7 separate regions of the Homo sapiens genome follow, and regions 1, 3, 4, 5, 6 and 7 are each linked to region 2. The links are contacts of gene promoters, found by promoter capture Hi-C in blood cells and fetal thymus (Javierre and others, 2016). All regions are on one chromosome and are shown on one strand. Each heading gives the region's core, a stretch centred on a gene start or on the middle of the fragment in contact. The rest is flanking DNA. Distances are from core to core; before and after follow the strand shown. Region 1 has its middle 55 kb from the start of APTX. Region 2 holds the start of TAF1L (TATA-box binding protein associated factor 1 like). Region 3 overlaps LOC107987059 (a long non-coding RNA gene). Region 4 overlaps APTX (aprataxin). Region 5 has its middle 35 kb from the start of APTX. Region 6 has its middle 82 kb from the start of APTX. Region 7 overlaps LOC107987059 (a long non-coding RNA gene).

What was found. The method cuts DNA at HindIII sites, captures the fragments that hold promoters and counts their contacts. A CHiCAGO score of 5 or more calls a contact.
Region 1: a fragment that was not itself captured here is called in contact with the fragment with the promoter of TAF1L in region 2 in 1 of 17 cell types (M1 macrophages); the score reaches 5.2 in M1 macrophages.
Region 3: a fragment that was not itself captured here is called in contact with the fragment with the promoter of TAF1L in region 2 in 1 of 17 cell types (activated CD4 T cells); the score reaches 5.2 in activated CD4 T cells.
Region 4: a contact is called between a fragment that was not itself captured here and the fragment with the promoter of TAF1L in region 2, in 1 of 17 cell types (M2 macrophages). The highest score is 6.4, in M2 macrophages.
Region 5: a fragment that was not itself captured here is called in contact with the fragment with the promoter of TAF1L in region 2 in 2 of 17 cell types (M2 macrophages and M1 macrophages); the score reaches 8.5 in M2 macrophages.
Region 6: a contact is called between a fragment that was not itself captured here and the fragment with the promoter of TAF1L in region 2, in 1 of 17 cell types (M2 macrophages). The highest score is 5.5, in M2 macrophages.
Region 7: a contact is called between a fragment that was not itself captured here and the fragment with the promoter of TAF1L in region 2, in 1 of 17 cell types (neutrophils). The highest score is 6.8, in neutrophils.

What each region holds. Positions count from the first base shown.
Region 1 is chr9:32,945,388-32,948,087 of GRCh38, forward strand. It overlaps the pseudogene ASS1P12. Among named protein-coding and RNA genes, the nearest start is that of APTX, 55 kb to the right of the region's middle. The HindIII fragment of the contact is 1,338 bases long and covers 766-2,103 here.
Region 2 is chr9:32,634,381-32,637,080 of GRCh38, forward strand. It overlaps TAF1L (TATA-box binding protein associated factor 1 like), which reads right to left and starts at 1,289. Exons shown (of 1, transcript NM_153809.2): 1 at 1-1,289. The coding sequence starts at 1,199. The HindIII fragment of the contact is 7,933 bases long and covers 1-2,700 here.
Region 3 is chr9:32,320,378-32,323,077 of GRCh38, forward strand. All of the region lies in intron 1 of LOC107987059 (a long non-coding RNA gene), which reads right to left. Among named protein-coding and RNA genes, the nearest start is that of ACO1, 63 kb to the right of the region's middle. The HindIII fragment of the contact is 180 bases long and covers 1,247-1,426 here.
Region 4 is chr9:32,985,903-32,988,602 of GRCh38, forward strand. It overlaps APTX (aprataxin), which reads right to left. Exons shown (of 8, transcript NM_001195248.2): 3 at 2,181-2,227; 4 at 1,642-1,944; 5 at 69-128. Among named protein-coding and RNA genes, the nearest start is that of APTX, 14 kb to the right of the region's middle. The HindIII fragment of the contact is 2,055 bases long and covers 251-2,305 here.
Region 5 is chr9:32,965,562-32,968,261 of GRCh38, forward strand. No RefSeq gene overlaps it. Among named protein-coding and RNA genes, the nearest start is that of APTX, 35 kb to the right of the region's middle. The HindIII fragment of the contact is 4,510 bases long and covers 1-2,700 here.
Region 6 is chr9:32,918,078-32,920,777 of GRCh38, forward strand. No RefSeq gene overlaps it. Among named protein-coding and RNA genes, the nearest start is that of APTX, 82 kb to the right of the region's middle. The HindIII fragment of the contact is 8,648 bases long and covers 1-2,700 here.
Region 7 is chr9:32,343,840-32,346,539 of GRCh38, forward strand. The region is part of intron 1 of LOC107987059 (a long non-coding RNA gene); the gene reads right to left. Among named protein-coding and RNA genes, the nearest start is that of ACO1, 39 kb to the right of the region's middle. RefSeq lists an enhancer at 672-966. The HindIII fragment of the contact is 848 bases long and covers 952-1,799 here.

The DNA.
Region 1 (2,700 bases), core at 185-2,684, 310 kb after region 2:
GGCCTCGTCTTTAAAAAAAATTAGCTGGGTATAGTGGTGCGTGCCTGTATTCCTTATTACTTGGGAAACTAAGGCAGGAGGATCCCTTGAGCCCAGGAGTATGAGGCTGCAGTACAGCTATGCTCCTGCCACTGCACTCCAGCCTGGGCAACAGAGCAAGACCCTGTCTCTGAAAATAAATAAATAAATAAATTTTTAAAAATCTTTAAATAGATTTTATGTTTCCAAGTCATTAAAGAACATGAGATGTCTTTCCATTTGTTCAGATAACATTTATAATTTTAATTGAGCTTTTATAACTTTAAATAGGTCTTATATCTTATTAATTTTACTGTCAAGGTGAAACTATTTTGATTTCTGAAATTTGCTTTAAAGTAGTACTACAGTAGGTAAGGTGGAGAGGCAGGATGAAACAAGAAGGGCAGAATATTGACGATTGTTGAAGCTGGTTATGGGTACTATTCTCTGGGTTTTTGTGGATGGTTTGGTATTTTGAAATTATACTCCCTGCTCTGTCGCCTGCCACCGCTCCCTGAGCCCGAGTGGTTCACCGTACCATGAAGACAGATGGCAGATGCCAGGAACTCGAGCCTCCAATCCCAGATGCTATGTCCAGCAAAGGCTCAGTGGTTCTGGCCTACAGTGGCAGCCCGGACACCTCTTGCATCCTCGTGTGGCTGAAGGAACAAGGCTATGACATCATTGCCTACCTGGCCAACACTGGCCAGAAGGAAGACTTCGAGGAAGCCTGGAAGAAGGCACTGAAGCTTGGGACCAAAAAGGTGTTCATTGAGGATGCCAGCAGGGAGTTTGTGGAGGAGTTCATCTGGCCGGCCATCCAGTCCAGCGCACTGTATGAGAACCGCTACCTCCTGGGCACCTCTCTGGCCAGGCCCGGCATCGCCGGCAAACAAGTGGAAATCGCCAAGCAGGAGGAGGCCAAGTATGTGTTCCACGGCACCACGGGAAAAGGAAATGATCAGGTCCGGTTTGAGCTCACCTGCTATTTGCTGGCCCCCCAGATAAAGGTCACCGCTCCCTGGAGGATGCCCGAGTTCTACAACCGGTTCAAGGGCTGCAATGACCTGATGAAATAGGCAAAGCAACATCGGGTTCCCATTCCAGTCACTCCCCAGAGCCCGTGAAGCATAGACGAGAACCTCATGCACATCAGCTATGAGGCTGGAATCCTGGAACCCCAAGAACCAAGTGCCTCCAGGTCTCTACATGAAGACCCAGGACCCAGCCAAAGCCCTCAACACCCCTGACATTCTCGAGATCAAGTTCAAAAAAGGGGTCCCCGTGAAGGTGACCAACGTCAAGGATGGCACCACCCACCAGACCTCCTTGGAGCTTTTCGTGTACCTGAATGAAGTTGCAGGCAAGCACGGCGTGGGCCGTATTGACATCGTGGAGAACCGCTTCATTGGAATGAAGTCCTGAGGTATCTGCGAGGCCCCAGCAGGGACCATCCTTCACCACACTCATTTAGACATCAAGGCCTTCACCATGTACCGAGAAGTGCGCAAAATCAAACAAGGCCTGAGCTTGAAATTTGCTGAGCTGGTGTATACCGGTTTCTGGCATAGCCCTGAGTGTGAATTTGTCCGCCACTGTAATGCCAAGTCCCAGGAATGAGTGGAAGGGAAAGTGCAGGTGTCTGTCCTCAAGGGCCAGGTGTATATCCTCGGTCGGGAGTCCCCACTGTCTCTCTACAACGAGGAGCTGGTGAGCATGAACGTGCAGGGGGATTATGAGCCGATTGATGCCACGGGTTCATCAACGTCGATTCCCTCAGGCTGAAGGAATGTCATCTCCAGAGCAAGGTCACTGCCAAACAGACCCCTGTACAATGAGGAGCTGGGGCTTCCCCAATTTGCAGATTTTTTCCCCCAAGTACAGGTGCTAATTGTGATAATTTGTCATTGTGACTTGTTTTCTCCAGCTGGCAGCATAGTGGGTCTGCCAGGCCCCAGCTTTGTTCCCTGGTCGCCCTGAACCCTGCAAACGTCGTCATCGAAGGGAAGGGTGGGGGCAGCTGCGGTGGGGAGCTATAAAATGACAATTAAAAGATTTTTTTAAATTACACTCCTAAGTATTTTAAGCTTGTATAAAACTGTAGAAAATAAAATAGTTTTCTAATTTCCTTTCAAAGTACTTACTGCTAATACGGAGAGAAGTTGGTGCTTTTTGTATATTTATCTTGCATCTGCCCACTTTTCCAAAATGACCTACAATTCAAATAGTTTATTACTAAAGTCCCTCGAGTTTTCTAGGCAAACAATGAAGTCACATAGACAAACATAAATAGTTTTATTTCGTCTTCTTCAAAGTTTATGGCAATTATTTTCTTACCTTACTTTGACAATGTAACATAATAATAGCACATGGACATCCTTTTCTAATTTCTGATTTCAATGAAATGATTTCAGAGTTTTGCTATTTAGAACAATGTTTGCTATTGGGTTTAGAGATACAGTCCTTATCCTAGATAAGTAGTTTCCTTGTATTGTTACTTAGACTTGTTTTTAATAGAAAAGTCATCACACCCTATTGGCTTAGAATTTTTATTAGGAATGGCTATTAAATTTTATAAAATGTTCCTCCAGTGTATATTGACAGGATCATATGGTTTTTCCTTTATAGTATTATCATAATTCATTACTAACGGTAATAGATGTCTTGATAGTGAACCAGCCT
Region 2 (2,700 bases), core at 39-2,538:
ATTCTAGATTTTATCACAGGTTCATGTTGTGTCTTTCTCAGTTTGAAGCCATAGTCAAACCCACTGCCATCTTCGGAGACACCCAGCATATCATACCACAGTCGGGCAGGCCCATAACGCCACTCAGCCACTCTTGGTTTGGTATCTGTCACTTTATCTACATCTCCAGTTGATTGGGAAAATTTGGACTCCACAGGAACCATCATCGTGATTTCATCATCAGCGAGACACTGCTCTGGGGGTGGTGGTGGAGCATAGTCATAGTTCCACAAAGACTTCTGGCTGACTTCTGATTCTACTGAGCATTCCACCTCCTGGATCTGCTCTTCCTGTATCAGCTCACGATGCTTCTTCCTCTTTCTCCGAGCACTCCGCCAAACAGATGGGACATTCTTCCCTGGTCCAAAAAGATGTAGGAAGCGTAACACTTTTCCAGGTCGAAATTCTGGAAAAAGTTCGGTGACACTTGGCAACAGCTTGGTGGCATCATGCTGCATAATCCCAGCCAATGGAAGGGTCAGCTTTCCATCCTCAGATTCTGCCTGTGTTGCTTCCTGAGGTCCCATCTCAGATTCTGAATCAGAGTAACTACTGAAATCCACTTTCTCTGAGGCCAAAAAGGAAGGGGCAATGATGGAGGGCAAGATGATGTCTTCTCCACTTTCAGACACACAGGTAATAGCATCTTGGTCCTTATCCTTCTTCATTGGTCCCGGGGGTGGAGGTGGAGGAGGCATCAACTTGCAATCAATGTCTTCACAATCAGCATCATAGTCATCTTCATCATAATCCGAGTGGTAAAGGGGCTGCAAGCTCCCCATCGTCTGCTGGTGTCTTTGGCTTTCATCTTCTGCCACCTCATTGATGTCTGAATAGTCTACAGCATCTTCTGTACTCCTAATCCACCCTTCATCATTTACCAAGGCACCGCCAGTCCCAGTCAATTCTTCATTTGCCGTGAGTTCAGTGATTAGGCTGCCCAGCCCCAAAGCCCCCAAGCCTGCCAAGTGCTTCTTACACTCATCATCCAAGACGCTTTCCCCCTCCAGCTGCCCCGCTCCACTGATGTTGCCGAAAAGGATACCCGCTAAAGTAAATGGGCCACCTCCAGATGAATCTTCCTCGCTGTCCGAGTCTGACATGATGGCGGCAGTGACGGTAGCTGCTGCCCTCAGCAGCAAATCGCAGCCGGGTCGCATAAACCGGAAATAAAACAACAGTCGCCCGGAAGTGATCTACTTAGCTCCCTTACCCTACCAGCGTCTACCGGAAGCTGAATAAAGGCGGGGGGAGGGGGCAAAGGGGCGGGGGGAAAAACCCGCAAAACTTTTTTTTTTTTTTTTTTTTGAGACGGAGTCTCGCAACGTCGCCCAGGCTGGAGTGCAGTGGCGCGATCTTGGCTCACTGCAAGCTCTGCCTTCTGGGTTCACGCCATTCTCCTGCCTCAGCCTCCTGAGTAGCTGGGACTACAGGCGCTCGCCACCACGCCTGGCTAATTTTTTTTTTTTTGTATTTTCAGTAGAGACGGGGTTTCACCATGTTAGCCTCTCGATCTCCTGACCTCGTGAACCGCCTGCCTCGGCCTCCCAAAGTGCTGGGATTACAGGCGTAAGCCACCGCGCCCAGCCTGTTTGCTGGTTTTTGAGACAAAGTCTTGCTCTGTCGCCCCAGGCTGGCGTGCAGTGGCACAATCTCGGCTCACTGAAACCTCCACCTCAGGAGTTCAAGAGATTCCTGCCTCAGCCTCCACAGTAGCTGGGATTACAGGCATGAGCCACCATGCCTGGCTAATTTTTTGTATTTTTAGTGGAGACAAGATTTCACCATATTGGCCAGGCTAGTCTTAAACTCCTGACCTCAGATGGTCAGCCCGTCTCTGTCTCCGAAAGTGCTGGGATTACAGGCGTGAGCCACTGCACCCAGCCTCTGTAAATCTCTTTATACATGAACTGCATATGTATGCTTCTCCAAATAATCTATAGCATTGTCATGCTTTACAATTTTGTATAAAAGGCATCTTACTGTGTGTACTCGTTTTTTTTTTCCCCCTTCCTTTTTTTTAAGAGATGGGATCTCACTATGTTAGCCAAGCTGGTCTTAAACTCCTCCTGGCCTCAAGCAATCCTCCCACTTTGGCCTCCCAAAGTGCTGAGATTACAGGCAAGAGCCACCAAACCCGACCTTACTGTATGTACTCTTAGCCAGAATGTTTTCTGGATAAAATTTATGTTTATGATATTCAACTATGTTGATGCATTCAATTCTATTTTTATAGCTCTATAGTGTTCTACAGTATGGTTATGCTACAATTTATCTATGTTCCTATGTTTGTTCATTTAAATTGTTCCCAAATTGTTCCTCTTATAAATAATGTATATGATTCCTTGAGCATATGTAGGACACATTCTCCAGGGTATACATCTAGGAGTGGAATTACTAGATTTTACAATATATGCTTTTTCAACTACACTTGCTATTACTAAATTGTTCTCCAAAGTAGTTGTACCATTTTACATACCTAACAGCAGTGTATAAAAGTTCTCACCTCTCCACATCCATTCTAACACTTAGCATTGTCATTTGTTAATTTTTGTTCATTTCTAATAAATGTATAATGATAATGTGGTTTTAATTTGTATTTTTCTGATTGCTACTGAAGGCTAACTTTTCATACACTTATTGACCAACTGTTTTTCCTCT
Region 3 (2,700 bases), core at 87-2,586, 310 kb before region 2:
AAAAAAGTGTATGGCCCAATTCAAGCTGCAAGAAAAAGGTAAATGATTTTATGTAGTATAGTGCCCACAAACCCTGGAATTTATAATTGTAAAAGCTCAACCACAATGTATTTAGAATTGACGGCATAGTAGGCACTGTCCTAGCCACTGGGGATATCTAGATAAAGGAAATATTATAGAACTTGGCCTACTAGCCAATCAGGACATCTTCCCAACTGCTCTCTTTCCAGATAGAGTCAGCAAATCTCCCTCCCAGTTATCAACACTGAAGGGCACTATCCAATATCTGTATAGCTATGGAGTCACTATTAGAGGAGGATAAAATCAGGGTCGTCTCTCCCTTACCTGCCCTGACTCTCCCGGGACCCCCACCTCGTCTTCTGAGTTCACAACGGAGTTCTCTCTAGCCCAAAACCAACTCTTATAACACAGAGAGAAGAGAGTCACAGGTTTGTCCCTAGATGATAACACAGACTAATGCCCCTAAACAGACAACTTCAAGGTTTCTTTAAGTGGCTTAGCTTTTATTTACTAAGTCAGTAAAAAGTCTTTGTAGGTCTAAGACCGAAAAGAAAGCATAATCAACTACAGCTTCAACTGATTCATTTTTAAAGGAGAGTCAGGGTCATAAAGCAAACAGAATTACTCATCGATAGTGCCAGGAACTGACCTGTTTCTGATAACTGGCCCCCTTTTTTGAGAGGTGACTGTATCTGTTTCTTAATACCTGGGGCAAAGTCAGTTACACACCTTGTGATGACAGACAAAAAGAGGCAGCCAGGACAGAAAGACAAACTTCGCATGTTCTCACTCATTTGTGGGAGCTAAAAATTAAAACAGTTGAATTCATGGAGGTAGAGAGCAGAATGATGGTTACCAGAGGCTGGGAGGGTAGCTGGTAGAGGGTAGGGGGACAGTGAGGATGGTTAATGGGTACAAAAATGTAGTTAGATAGAATGAATAAGATCTAGTATTTCACAGCACAACAGGATGACTACAATCAACAATAATTTATTGTACATTTTAAAATAACTAAGCATATAACTGGATTGTTTGTAACACAAAGAAATAAATTCTTGACATAATGAATACTTCATTTACCCTGGTGTGATTATTACACATTTTGTGCCCGTATCAAACTAGCTCATGTACCCCATAAGTATATACATCTACTATGTACCCATAAAAATTAGAAATAAAAAAGTTTAAAGTTTAAAAACTAACAAAAAAGTTAAAATTAAATAAAAGCTTATTGAATAAGATATAAAGGGAAAAAAGGCAGCCAGAATGAGATCCCAATTGGTGGAAAGGGCAATGAACTTTAAACAGTGGTTCCCTATTCTATTCTGCAGTCTTCTTTATGGAAGCCGTATACATGTGTGCATGAAGACAGAGAGAGACCAACAGGAAAGAGAAAGTTAAAACAAGCTTTTAGAGAGTATTTCCCATGAGCATCTCATAGTCTAGTCAGGGAGATGGACAAGTAAGTTTGCAAGAATTGCAAAACAGTGTTTTACACTTCACAATGGAAGTGTCCTGGAGATACCAAGCAGGGAATGGTAAACACTGTTAGATGAAGGCAGAGAAGGCTTCATGAAAGAGGTGATGACTTTTGAAGGATGAGTAGGAAATTCTAGGTGCATTAGGGGATTAAGGGCAATTCAAACTGCATACACTGCACCTGCTTCACTTTGGTGAGTGGCTCTCAAATTTAGCATGCATCAAAGTCACTTGGAGAGTTTATTAAAGCACAGATTACTGGGCCTCATCCCCAGAGTTTCATATTGAATAGGTCTGAAGTGGGCCCACAAATCTGATTTTCTAAAAAGTTGGCAGGTGATGTTGAAGCTGAGAACTGCTGGCTTAGGTGCACTGTGAGGAAAAATTAGTGGAGAAAGATACTCTGAGAAATAGGCAGGGCTGATTATAAGGGAAATATAGACACTGTAATCTGGACAGTGGGACCCATTGACAGGTTCTAAGCAGTAGAGTGCAATAATCACATGTGAGTTATAAGAGGGCAACTCTGATGGAAGTGTGGAGGGAAAGGGTGGTTATAACACAGTACCAGTCAGCCAGTCAGGAAATGATGAAGTCATAACAAAGGCCCAGGGGGAGCAGTAGAAATATAGAGGATGGATCTAAGATTACTTATGCAAAAACAAAAACAAAACCCAGTCTCTTGAGCTATGTTCTAAAAGGAGGACAGTAAATCAGCTGTTTCCCTTGCCTCTAGAAACTGTTATTTGTTCTCTTGCCTTATTAAAATAAATATGCACGATATACTTCTGGGAAAGGGCACAGATTTTAGTAATGTTTACTTAACAACCATCATTTGTTCATTCTTTTTTCCAAGGAAAAGGGAAATACCCTTATTTGGTGAAGCAAGCGTGTCCCCATGGGTTTTCCATATGCATCTCTGTTGCCCACGAAGCGCTGGACTAAGCATGCCTGGGAAAAGAAAGGGGTAGGTTGGGGGAAGCCTGCGTATTCATAGCTCTAGGAGAAGCAGACCAGGAAGGCCGGAGTAGCATAGGGAAGGGATATAGAGAGGGCGAGAGGAAGGGCAGAAGCAACAAAAGCTGTGCACCTGCAAGGATGGAATAAGGATTTCTAGGAAGCCCTAGAAACAGCTGGTAGGTGATTGAATTTCCTGCAGCAATATTCTAGATGAGGGGCATTTACAAGATCAGCAATAAT
Region 4 (2,700 bases), core at 28-2,527, 350 kb after region 2:
ATTAAGACCTCTGTGGAGTGGTCATTTACAACATGAAATGTACTGAAATTCCAAAATTGTATTCTGACCTGCATTTTGGGGTCCTGCATAGAAATCTTCAAGCCTTGACTCCAGTGGCCCAGGGATTCCTAAAAAAAAAACAAAAAAAAAAACAAAAAAAAAAAAAAACAAGCAATGTAAATTACAAATGCCAATAATTAAATTTGGCAACAGTTAATACTGTGTGATAGCACAACTAAACTTGGAAATAAGCTTAGTTTTTGAGAATTAAACAAGATTCACTTGACTCTGCTTCACTCCATTGCCTTCCTATATTCTCTTTTTTTTTGAGACAAAGTCTCACTCTGTCTCACCCAAGCTGGAGTGCAGCGGCGTGATCACTGCAACCTCCGAAGTGATTCTCCTGCCTCAGCCTCCCAAGTAGCTGGGATTACAGGTGCCCACCACCACGCCCAGCTAACTTTTGTATTTTTTAGTAGAGACGGAGTTTCACCAGGTTGGCCATGCTGGTCTTGAACTCCTCACCTCAGGTGATCCACTGGCCTCCACCTCCCCAAGTGCTGGGATTACAGGCGTGAGCCACCACACCCGACCCTATATTCTTTCTTTTTTTTTTTGAGATGGGGTTTCGCTCTTGTTGCCCAGGCTGGAGTACAATGGCGTGATCTCGGCTCACTGCAACCTCTGCCTCCCGGGTTCAAGCGATGCTCCTGCCCAGCCTCTGGAGTTGCTGGGATTATAGGCATGCACCACCACGCCCAGCTAATTTTGTATTTTTAGTAGAGATTAGGTTTTGCCATGTTGGTCAGGCTGGTCTCGAACTCCTGACCTCAGGTGATCTGCCCATCTCGGCCTCCCAAAGTGCTGGGATTACAGGCGTGAGCCAGCACACCCAGCTGTTTTTTATTATTGTTGTTGTTTTTTGAGATGGAGTCTCGCTCTGTCGCCCAGGCTGGAGTGCAGTGGTGCAATCTCAGCTCACTGCAACCTCCGCCTTCCAGGTTCAAGCAATCCTCCCGCCTCAGCCTCCCGAGTAGCTGGGATTACAAGCATGTGTGTACCACCAGGCCCAGCTAATTTTTGTATTTTTAGTAGACATGGAGTTTCACAATGTTTGCCAGGCAGGTCTCAAACTCCTGACCCTCAAGTGATCTGCCCACCTCGGCCTCCCAAAGCGCTGAGATTACAGGCGTGAACCACTGCACCCAGCCAGCCTTCCTATATTCACAGCTGGCTGTTCTAAATGAAGGCGAGAAATGCCAGAGTATGAGTCATACCTTCTTTGCCCTCTCTCACTGCAGCTACAGCCTGACCAATTCTCCACTTTGACATCAGCATATGAATTACATGATCTATGAAAACCTTCTATAGATGCATAAACAACTGATCCACTTTAGTTGTTCAATGTTAAGTACACACTGCCATTATTGTTGTACCTTCAGGTGGCTTACCTCAGGAATTTAAGAAAAAAGCACATAAAGGAACATTCATCCAAATGATTTTCACGCCACAAACAAGTGACTCTTTCATCATGGTTAATAACCCCTCACGCATTTCTGAACTTTAAAGTGTACAAAACAATTAAGCAGTCATTATATTTCATTTCTTCTCCACATCATCTACCAATCACACTACCCTCACCTTTTTGATAGGTGCATCTTTTCCCTTCTTTAGGGGCACAGAGCATTGGCCAGAGTTGCTCCCAGGTTCCAGCCCTGTCCCAGCCTCAGCTTCCTGAGCAGCATCCCTTTCTATAGAATCACTGTTGCCTGATCTCTTTCTCTTCCTGTGTGTTTCCAGGCCAGGGTTCTTTGCCTCTTCCTCAAACTCTACAATATATGGATAAAGTTCATTCACCATGTGGAGAACCTGGCCAGGCTGCAGCTTCACCTCTTGGTCCTTCCCAATTACGACTGAGTCAATGCTGGTGGGATTGACTCCTACCTATGGAATAAACAATCAGAAAATAATTATAATAATAGCAACAGCACCTACAGTAAGATAGCCACTGCTATGTTAACCACTTACTATATGCCAAGCACCTTGCCTTATGTTCACCTATATTACTCCATCACTTCCATACATGACAGAGAAGCCTTCACTGGCTGGCACAGACACTCTAAAGTCAACAGCATAAGAAAATCATCGAGTATAAAATTCCAAGTTATAAATACACCTACCTGCTTTACCTTGACATATCCCTTGTTACACTCTGCTTTCAACTGTACTGAAAGAGATTGGAAAAAGTTAAACACAAATGCAACAAAGAACCAGGCACTTGCTCCTATCTTCCCTAAAGAAAACAAGCTTCACTACAGGCGGCAGCTGAACAGGTGGTGTTTCCTTAAAGGCCTATTAGCAATCACCTGTTATTGCAGGTGGCTGGAGCTCCAAATCCTACCAATTTCTAAAGGTTTAAATCCTTCCATAAAATGTCCAACAGCGTACATACTCCCTTAGCTATTGCCAAGATCCCTATGAGGCAGCTTCAATTAATCCCCACAAGTTTCCCTATTCCAGAACCCCTGGCCTGCTCATGATCACAGACTCTGCCGCCAGAAAAGAAGACCTGTTTCTCCCAGCCTGGGCAGCATGGCAATACCCCGTCTCTACAAAAAAATACAAAAATTAGCCAGGTGTGGTGGCACATGCCTGTAGTCCCAGCTACTTGGGAGACTGAGGTGGGAGAATCACTTGAGC
Region 5 (2,700 bases), core at 150-2,649, 330 kb after region 2:
ATTAAAGTATATGAACTTTGACTCAAAAGTTTTTTTTTAAAGCAAAAGAAAAGGCAAAAATAAGAGTTATAAAGAAAACCTACTTTTCTAAAAAACAGCGTTTTATAAGCAGACATCTAGCAAATATTATCAAGAAAAAAAGAAGAAATACAAAATGCAAGAAATGAGAAATTGGAATAGGAACAACAGAAGTCAAAATGTGGCCAAAAAGGCCAGGTGCAGTGGCTTATGCCTATAATCCCAACACTTTGGAAGGCTGATGGGAGGATCCCTTGAGGCCAGGAGTTCAAGATCAGCCTGGGCAACATGGTGAGACCCTGTCTCTACCAAAAAAAGAAAAAAAAATTAATCAAGTATATAATCTTTGTTTGTCTCTCAAAAATATATTAAAAGGGACTCATTTATACCCAGAGAGACCAACCCTTCTTCAAATCCCCTTCTTTTCCCCAAATCTCCCAGAGCCCTCCAAAGCTCCCACTTCCCAGATGCCTCAAAGTCTGCCCCAAATATTCACCTATCTTTTTCAGTCCTTCACCCCCTTCTGTCTTCACTATGTAGATTGGTTTAGCTTCACTAACTTTTTTGTTTTCTTTCCACTTCTCCCATTACTTGATTTCTCTAACACAAAGGATGTTCTGGGAACTGATCCAACAAGCCAAAATTCTAACCATTCTTCTCATTTTCCATCTTTTCTTCCCCTTTTCCTGATACTTTTGTTAAAATCTGGGGACCAGGCCAAATACATAAATCAATCTATAAATCTTATTCCCCAAACCCATCCCATCACGAATGTTTCAGAGTCAAAGTCAATACTGAAAGAGAAGCCCTAGGGAACCAAGAGGATTCACCCCCAGAATTCAAGGTGGTTCAGTATTTGGAAACCAAATGTAACATTTCATATCAACATAATTTACAAGGGAAATCATGGGATCTCAATGGGTGGTGAAAGGCATTTGTAAGTACAAACAGAAAGTTGCTATGGACAGCAATTTTGAATAACTAAAATGTAGTTGGTGTCTCGCAGACATTGAGGTTAGGGGCAAACAGAGAAAAAGCCACTATTTTTCTAGATCTAGTGTTAGGAATATCAGATCCATCAGATCAAATGAATTACCTTCACGTGTGTCATTCTCAGACTCAAGCAAATTTGGTCTTGAAATCTGGCCTTGCAGGATGCCTGTCTCTGGAGGGCCACAGAACACTCGAATGGAACTGGCATTATTTGTAAAAAAAAAAAAAAAATTAGCCACTTTTTGTTGTATCAGCTATTAATATAAATAATTGAATGTTGATTACATTCCTTTGTGACCTATCACTTTTTAAAAATAAAATTTGAGGCTTTTTTCACACTCCCAAATATGTATTCACTGTAGCTAATTTAGAAGCGTGCACAACAATATAACACAATTTAAATTATCCACATTCTTACCACCAAGAGAGGACCGCTAATTAACGTTTTAGTATATTCTCTCCCAGCATGAATTTGGGAATGCAAGCACTCTTGATGTTTAATTAGGACATAAGTTGGTTGCTGATATTATAAGTCACTTCTATGTTTCAAATCCCTCAATGGAACATCAGAGGCTACTAGAATAAAGAGTTCTGATAGATTCTCCAGGCAAGAGATTAAACTTTGCCCCAAAGCACCAGAGAGATTAGATGCCCAGTGGTAGCAGAGTGACTTTCTGTGTGTAGTTTGGAAAAAAGGACTGCCAGTTGGTTCAAAATAATTAGAATCTAGGGGATACACACACACACACACACACACACACACACACACACACACACACACACACGCACACCAGCTGAGAAGACCTGCCCTAGAAAATCCATGGATTATTGATTTTTGGGGTGCTTCCCTTGAAATTACATGCAAAACATATGGGAAAGGGGCTATCATCTTCACCAAATTTTGGATCTATGACTCCCTCAAAATGTCAGGACCCCTGGTACATAAAGTCCTTTTCAATTTTAATATTCTTGTACTCTTTGGCATTGGAGCTTTTATTCTGCCTGCTTAAAAGACAGAAGGCTTGGAAGAGATGGAAGACAGATGAAGCTAGGTTCTTCTATCAAAAGGAGGTTTGCGGGGAAGCTGGCCCATGGAAAATGCAGACACAGCCCTTTACCTTCTCTGTATATTGACCGTCCTGCTTTGACAGTGCTTCCTCTAATATTTGACCACCAGCGACTTAGCAATTGTCGATGTAAAAATGATGCCATTTTTGAAGAATATGCCCAAAAGAAGTGTCTGCTACCAGTGCTACTCCCAGGTATTCTTGTGATGTGAACAACAGTCACTAACTTGGGGTCAAATTAAGAAAATTTGCCAGCATATTTTCAATGCCTACCATGCATTGACATGCCCCAAGACCCATTTCATGATTGCCAGAATCAGGCTTCAACCTTGGCTCTAGCCAACTTATTATTTTTTTTAATAGAAAGAATGTTTTTTGGGGTTTGTTTGTTGAGACACAGTCTTGATCTGTCACCCAGGCTGGAGTGCAATGGCACGATCTCAGCTCACAGCAATCTCTGCCTCCTGGGTTGAAGCGATTCTCGTGCCTCAGCCAGCCAAGTAGCTGGGATTACAGGCGCGTGCCACCACACCTGGCTAATTTTTGTATTTTTGGTGGAGACAGGGTTTTGCCATGTTGGCTAGGGGCTAGGCTGTTCTCGAACTCCTGACCTCAAATGATC
Region 6 (2,700 bases), core at 136-2,635, 280 kb after region 2:
TGCTATAGATGCCTTGTGCAAATGTAAAAAAAAAAAAACAGATTGATACGTGAGAAGAATTTCAATAACGGGAGAGGAACCATTTGGGTGAATCAAGCCCTTCCCAGTCTTCAATAACTTGGGGCTCCTTGGACAGCCCACATCATGCCAAAAAAGGCATTCTCACAGTTGGGAAGAACTGCATCGGACACCAGTGTCAAAAAGAGGATTTTTAAACTCGCTCTGACCAACATCCCTACGCATCCACTGACAAATATTCTCTGCGACCTAACAGCTGATATTCCTTTTGTTCTCCTAATTAAAAACTTTTATGGCTAAATGCAACATGGTATACTGGATTGGATCCTGGAACAAAGAAAAGACATTAGTGGAAAAACTGGTAAAATATGAATATGTTCTGTATGTTAGTTGATGATATTATATCCCAGTTTTGACAATGTACCATCGTTACATAAGATGTTAACATAAGGTGAAGCTGGGTGAAGGGTATATGAAAACTCTGTACCATCTCTACAACTCTTCTGTAAATCTAAAATTATTTAAAAACAAAAAAAAAGTTTTAGTATTTGTGGTAGAGGATACCTCCCATATCAGTCTTTGCTTTCTTTACATAAGGAGAATACTGGTGCAACACTTCTCATGGAGTTTATAGGATATTGAGAGAGCCAAGTAAAAAGGGCTCCCTGGAGAATCTCCAACCCACCTGTGCACTGGGAGGACGGGGTGGGGCCTCAGGAAGTTTGAGCGGTTTGCAGGGGGAGGAGCCTGGCCGCTCCTGTTCCCATGTGGTAACTGGGGATTCAATCTAGCAGGATTCTCACTTTGCTGAGAGTCCCTGTTTCCCTTTTTTTCTTCCTTTTCACCCAATGAACCCTGCCCTACACACCCTACAACGTGTCCATGTGCCTAAATTATCCTGGTCGTGTCACAAGAAACTGATTTTCCAACAACAACATTTGGGCACAGTGTAATCATGGCCTATAATCTCTTTTATAATTCTATAATTTTAAATATCTGATTAAGCTATTTCAAAAAAATTTTTCTTTTCTTTTTGTTTTTGGAGACGGGAGTCTCGCTCTGTCACCCAGGCTGGAGTGCAGTGGTGCAATCTTAGTTCATTGCAACCTCTGCCTCCCAGGTTCAAGTGATTCTCCTACCTCAGCCTCTCAAGTAGCTGGGACTACAGGTATATGCCACCTCATCTGGCTAATTTTTTTTTTTTTTTTTTTTTTTTGAGATGGAGTTTCTCTCCGTCGCCAGGCTGGAGTGCAATGGCGCAATCTCGGCTCACTGCAACCTCCACCTCCCCGGTTCAAGTGAGTCTCTTACCTCAGCCTCCCTAGTAGCTGGGATTACAGGGGCCCGCCACCACGCCCAGCTATTTTTTTTTTTTTTTTGTATTTTTAGTAGAGACGGGGTTTCACCATGTTGGCCAGGCTGGTCACGAGCTCCTGACCTCAAGCGATACACCCACCTTGGCCTCCCAAAGTGCTGGGACTACAGGCATGAGCCACTACACCCGGTCTAATTTTTGTATTTTTAGTAGAGATGGGGTTTTACCATGTTGCCCAGGCTGATCTCGAACTCCTGACCTCAGGTGATCTGCCCGCCTCTCCCCATGTCTGCGTGGGTTTTCGTAGGGTACTCTGGCTTTCTCCCACATCCCAAAGCTGTACACGTTAGGTAAATCGGGTGTCTAACTGGTCCCAGTGTGAGTCAGCGTGGGTGCTTGTGAGTTTGCCTTGCGATGGGATGTCGAACTCCAGGGTTGCTTCCCACCTGGCACTCAGAGCTGCAGGGAGAGGCTCTGGCCACCTGCACCCTGAACTGGAATAAGCGGGTAGTTATCTGACTTGCTTTCATTAATTTTTCTTTTTTTTTTCTTTTTTTTTTTTTTTTTTTTTTTGAGATGGAGTCTTGCTCTGTCACCCAGGCTGGAGAGCAGTGGCGCAATCTCAGCTCACTGCAACTGCCGCATCCCGGGTTCCAACGATTCTCCTGCCTCAGGCTCCCGAGTAGCTGGGATTAGAGGTGCTGCCACTACGCCCAGCTAATTTTTGTATTTTTAGTAGAGACAGGGTTTCACCATGTTGGCCAGGCTGGTCTCGAACTCCTGACCCTGTGATCCACCCACCTCGGCCTCCCAAAGTGCTGGGATTACAGGCGTGAGCCACCACACCTGGCCGGCTAATTTTTCTTAAGTATATGTACGGTCCACTTTCATATTTCAATGTGTAATATTAAAAGTGTTTGGAGTCTTTATTTAGAAGTTTGGTGATGTTTCTGTGACCAGAAATATGTCATAGGAACTTGACTCTTGTTTATATCAATTAGCCTATGGTAAAATTGGTTTTGTTAATAACAGATGTTGGCAAGATTTTGGAAAAAAGGGACTGCTTATCCACTGGTGGTGGGAATGTAAACTAGTTCAGCCACTGTGAAAAACAGTTTGGGGATTTCTCAAAGAAGAGAAAACAGAATTTCCATTCAACCCAGCAATCCCATTACTGGTTATATACCCAAAGGAATATAAGTCATTCCACCAAAAAGACACATGCACTCATATATTCATTGCCGCACTATACAGAATAGCAAAGACATAAAATCAAACTAGGTGCCCACCTACAGTCGACTGGATAAAAGAAAAATGTGGTACATATACATCATGGAATACTATACAGCCGTAAATTACAATGAAGT
Region 7 (2,700 bases), core at 126-2,625, 290 kb before region 2:
TCACTTATGACTTTCTAAATAGATATGCACAGTAGAAGGGGATTATGGGGTGTTGCTCAGGCTGGTCCCCCTACTTGGAACACGAGTCTCTCCTTTCTCTTTGTTACCTTCACGTTATCTTCAGGTCTTGATTCACAAGTCAGTTTCTCCAGAATATCTTCCTTGATCCTATCAAGGACCCTGCTACGTGCTCTACGTGGGACTTTCCTTAGCAGAGCACTTACTACATTGTATCCTAATTGTTTGCTTAATTTTCTGTCCCTATAATTAGATTAAATTCCATGAAAGCAGAACTGCACTTGGCTGGGTCACCTGAATCTCTGCTCCAGGTTTGGTGCATAGCAGGCACACAGAATGTTTTATGTGGATTTATCAATCAATTAACTCATGACACATTTAAAGGGCCTCAGCAACAGTCAAGATGGAATAACATTGAGTGGCCATACTGCTCATCAATCTAATTGAACATGAAAACAGATTAATTCAAATTTCCCACACCAAATATATAACTCAATGCAAAAGGCCCTGTCCCTCACATATCCAAAGGGGTTCACTGGTAAGGGCAATAAGTCATAGAAGAAATGTAAGTAGAAAGATCATTTGAAACCCCAAATTATTAAACATTTTTTATTCCTACTTTTAGTTTCTTCACCACAATACCTTTTAACAGAGTCACTAACAAAAAAGGAGGGGAAATCACGCACCGACTTTCCTCTCCTCCCTCATCTGCCTTCTGCCTTCTGGAAGCCTTCAGATGAGCTGGCAATAGCCAGAAGAATGAAGAATAAAGGGTGTGAATAACCCCTGCGCTTTAGCTTTCAGTTTCACTTTCTGACAAAGGATCAGAGTCTTGCCCAAGGCTGGAACAACCTGGGGAGCCTGCATTCAAGCTCTGTATTCAGGAAATAGTCAGCATTCTGCATCCCAGTCCTGGAGGCCCCCTGCTCAGGAAGCTTCCTCCCACAGGCTGCCTCTCCACCTAAGAACCGGGATACCTGGGACATTAGGTCCAACATCCATCGGCATCACAGGTATTGTCCACACTTGGACAGCCACTGAACATGCCTCTGAGTAGCAGTGTTACCACTGAGGGCGGTGGGGTGGAGGGGAAGAAAACCAGTGCTGCACTTTTCAATGGAAATGCTCTCGTTTGATCTCTCGTATCAGTGAAGGTTGCTTTTTCTGCAAACCTGTCACTGCATGTGATGCCTCTATTACATACACAGCCTCTGGCAACATGGACAAGGCTAAATCCCTGCCCCAAATCTAAATGTGCCAAAGCAGATCAAAATATGAGGTAGTGCTTAAGTTGATATGGACAGCAATTCACAGGCACTGACATCTAAGTTCTTTCTTTGTTTCTGTCAATTTCCAACCGGACTGCGGCAACCTAACTGGATACCCCATCACTACCCTCCTCCTTCTCAAACCCCATCTTCATTCCTGCTCCTTAAAACCATTATCACCACCAGAAACTACCCAGATCCCAGTACATCCTACAATGCTGATCATTGGATTCTAGCAGAGAGGCAATGGAAACACAACATGACATTTCCTGTTTCCAAACAGAGCCCAGGGAAAGCACCGCTCCACTGATAAATGCTTGCTTTCAGGCACTCCCAGCTACCCGCAGGTGGTTCATATGCATACCCAGTTGGAGAGGGACTCTTTCCAGTCTAGACCAGCTGCTCCACTAAGCCAGCCTCTGGTTGCCTCAGCTAAAAAATGCATCATCATTTTTACGACGATGCCCACAGATTAATAAACCATATGCAAAAAGACGGCCATCCAAATAATTAAGCTTCCTATTGCAGATATTGTAAAGTCATGACAGATCCAGGTGTGCCTGAAATTCTGGCTCCTTTATTCAGCACACTTACGAGCAGATAAAGTCTTTTGTTATAAACGTCAGGTGCCTTCTTAAAGCATAGTGACAAACCAGGATAAAATAACTTCCTTTGGCCTTTCACCCAGAATGCAAGCACTCCTCTCTGGGCAGGAAGGCACCAGTAGGATGACTATCAAAGCCCCCACCTAGAATAAATCTACATTTACAGAGGGGTGAGAACAATAACTGATGTTGAATCTTGTTGCATCTACATTTTGGGAGGTTTGGGAAAGAGGACAGAAGATAGACCTTGCTGGGACTGACTCTTTCAGCTTTTTAAAGAATAATGTGTTTCTTACTACAAAATTGGCTTATGCTCACTGTCGAAATACAGACAAGCATAGGAAAAAAAATAAAGTAGTGCTGATTCACTTTCCCAAAGTAATCACTGTTAAGATTTTAGTGCAATTCCTCCTTTCCCAATGCGTGCGTGTTGTGTGTTTTAGATTATGAGAATGAATTTGTAACTGGTATTTTTACTTAATAAAAACTACTATATTAATAATATTTTGTACATTTTTTTTTTGAGACGGAGTCTTGCTCTGTCGCCCAGGCTGGAGTGTAATGGCGTGATCTCGGCTCACTGCAGCCTCTGCCTCCCAGGTTCAAGCAATTCTCCTGCTTCAGCCTCCTGGGTAGCTGGGACTACAGGTGCCCGCCACTACACCTGGCTAATTTTTTGTGTGTATTTTTAGGAGAAATGAGGTTTCACCATGTTGGCCAGGATGGTCTTGATCTCCTGACCTCGTGATCCGCCCGCCTCGGCCTCCCCAAGTGCTGTGATTACAGGCATGAGCCACCGTGCCTGGCCA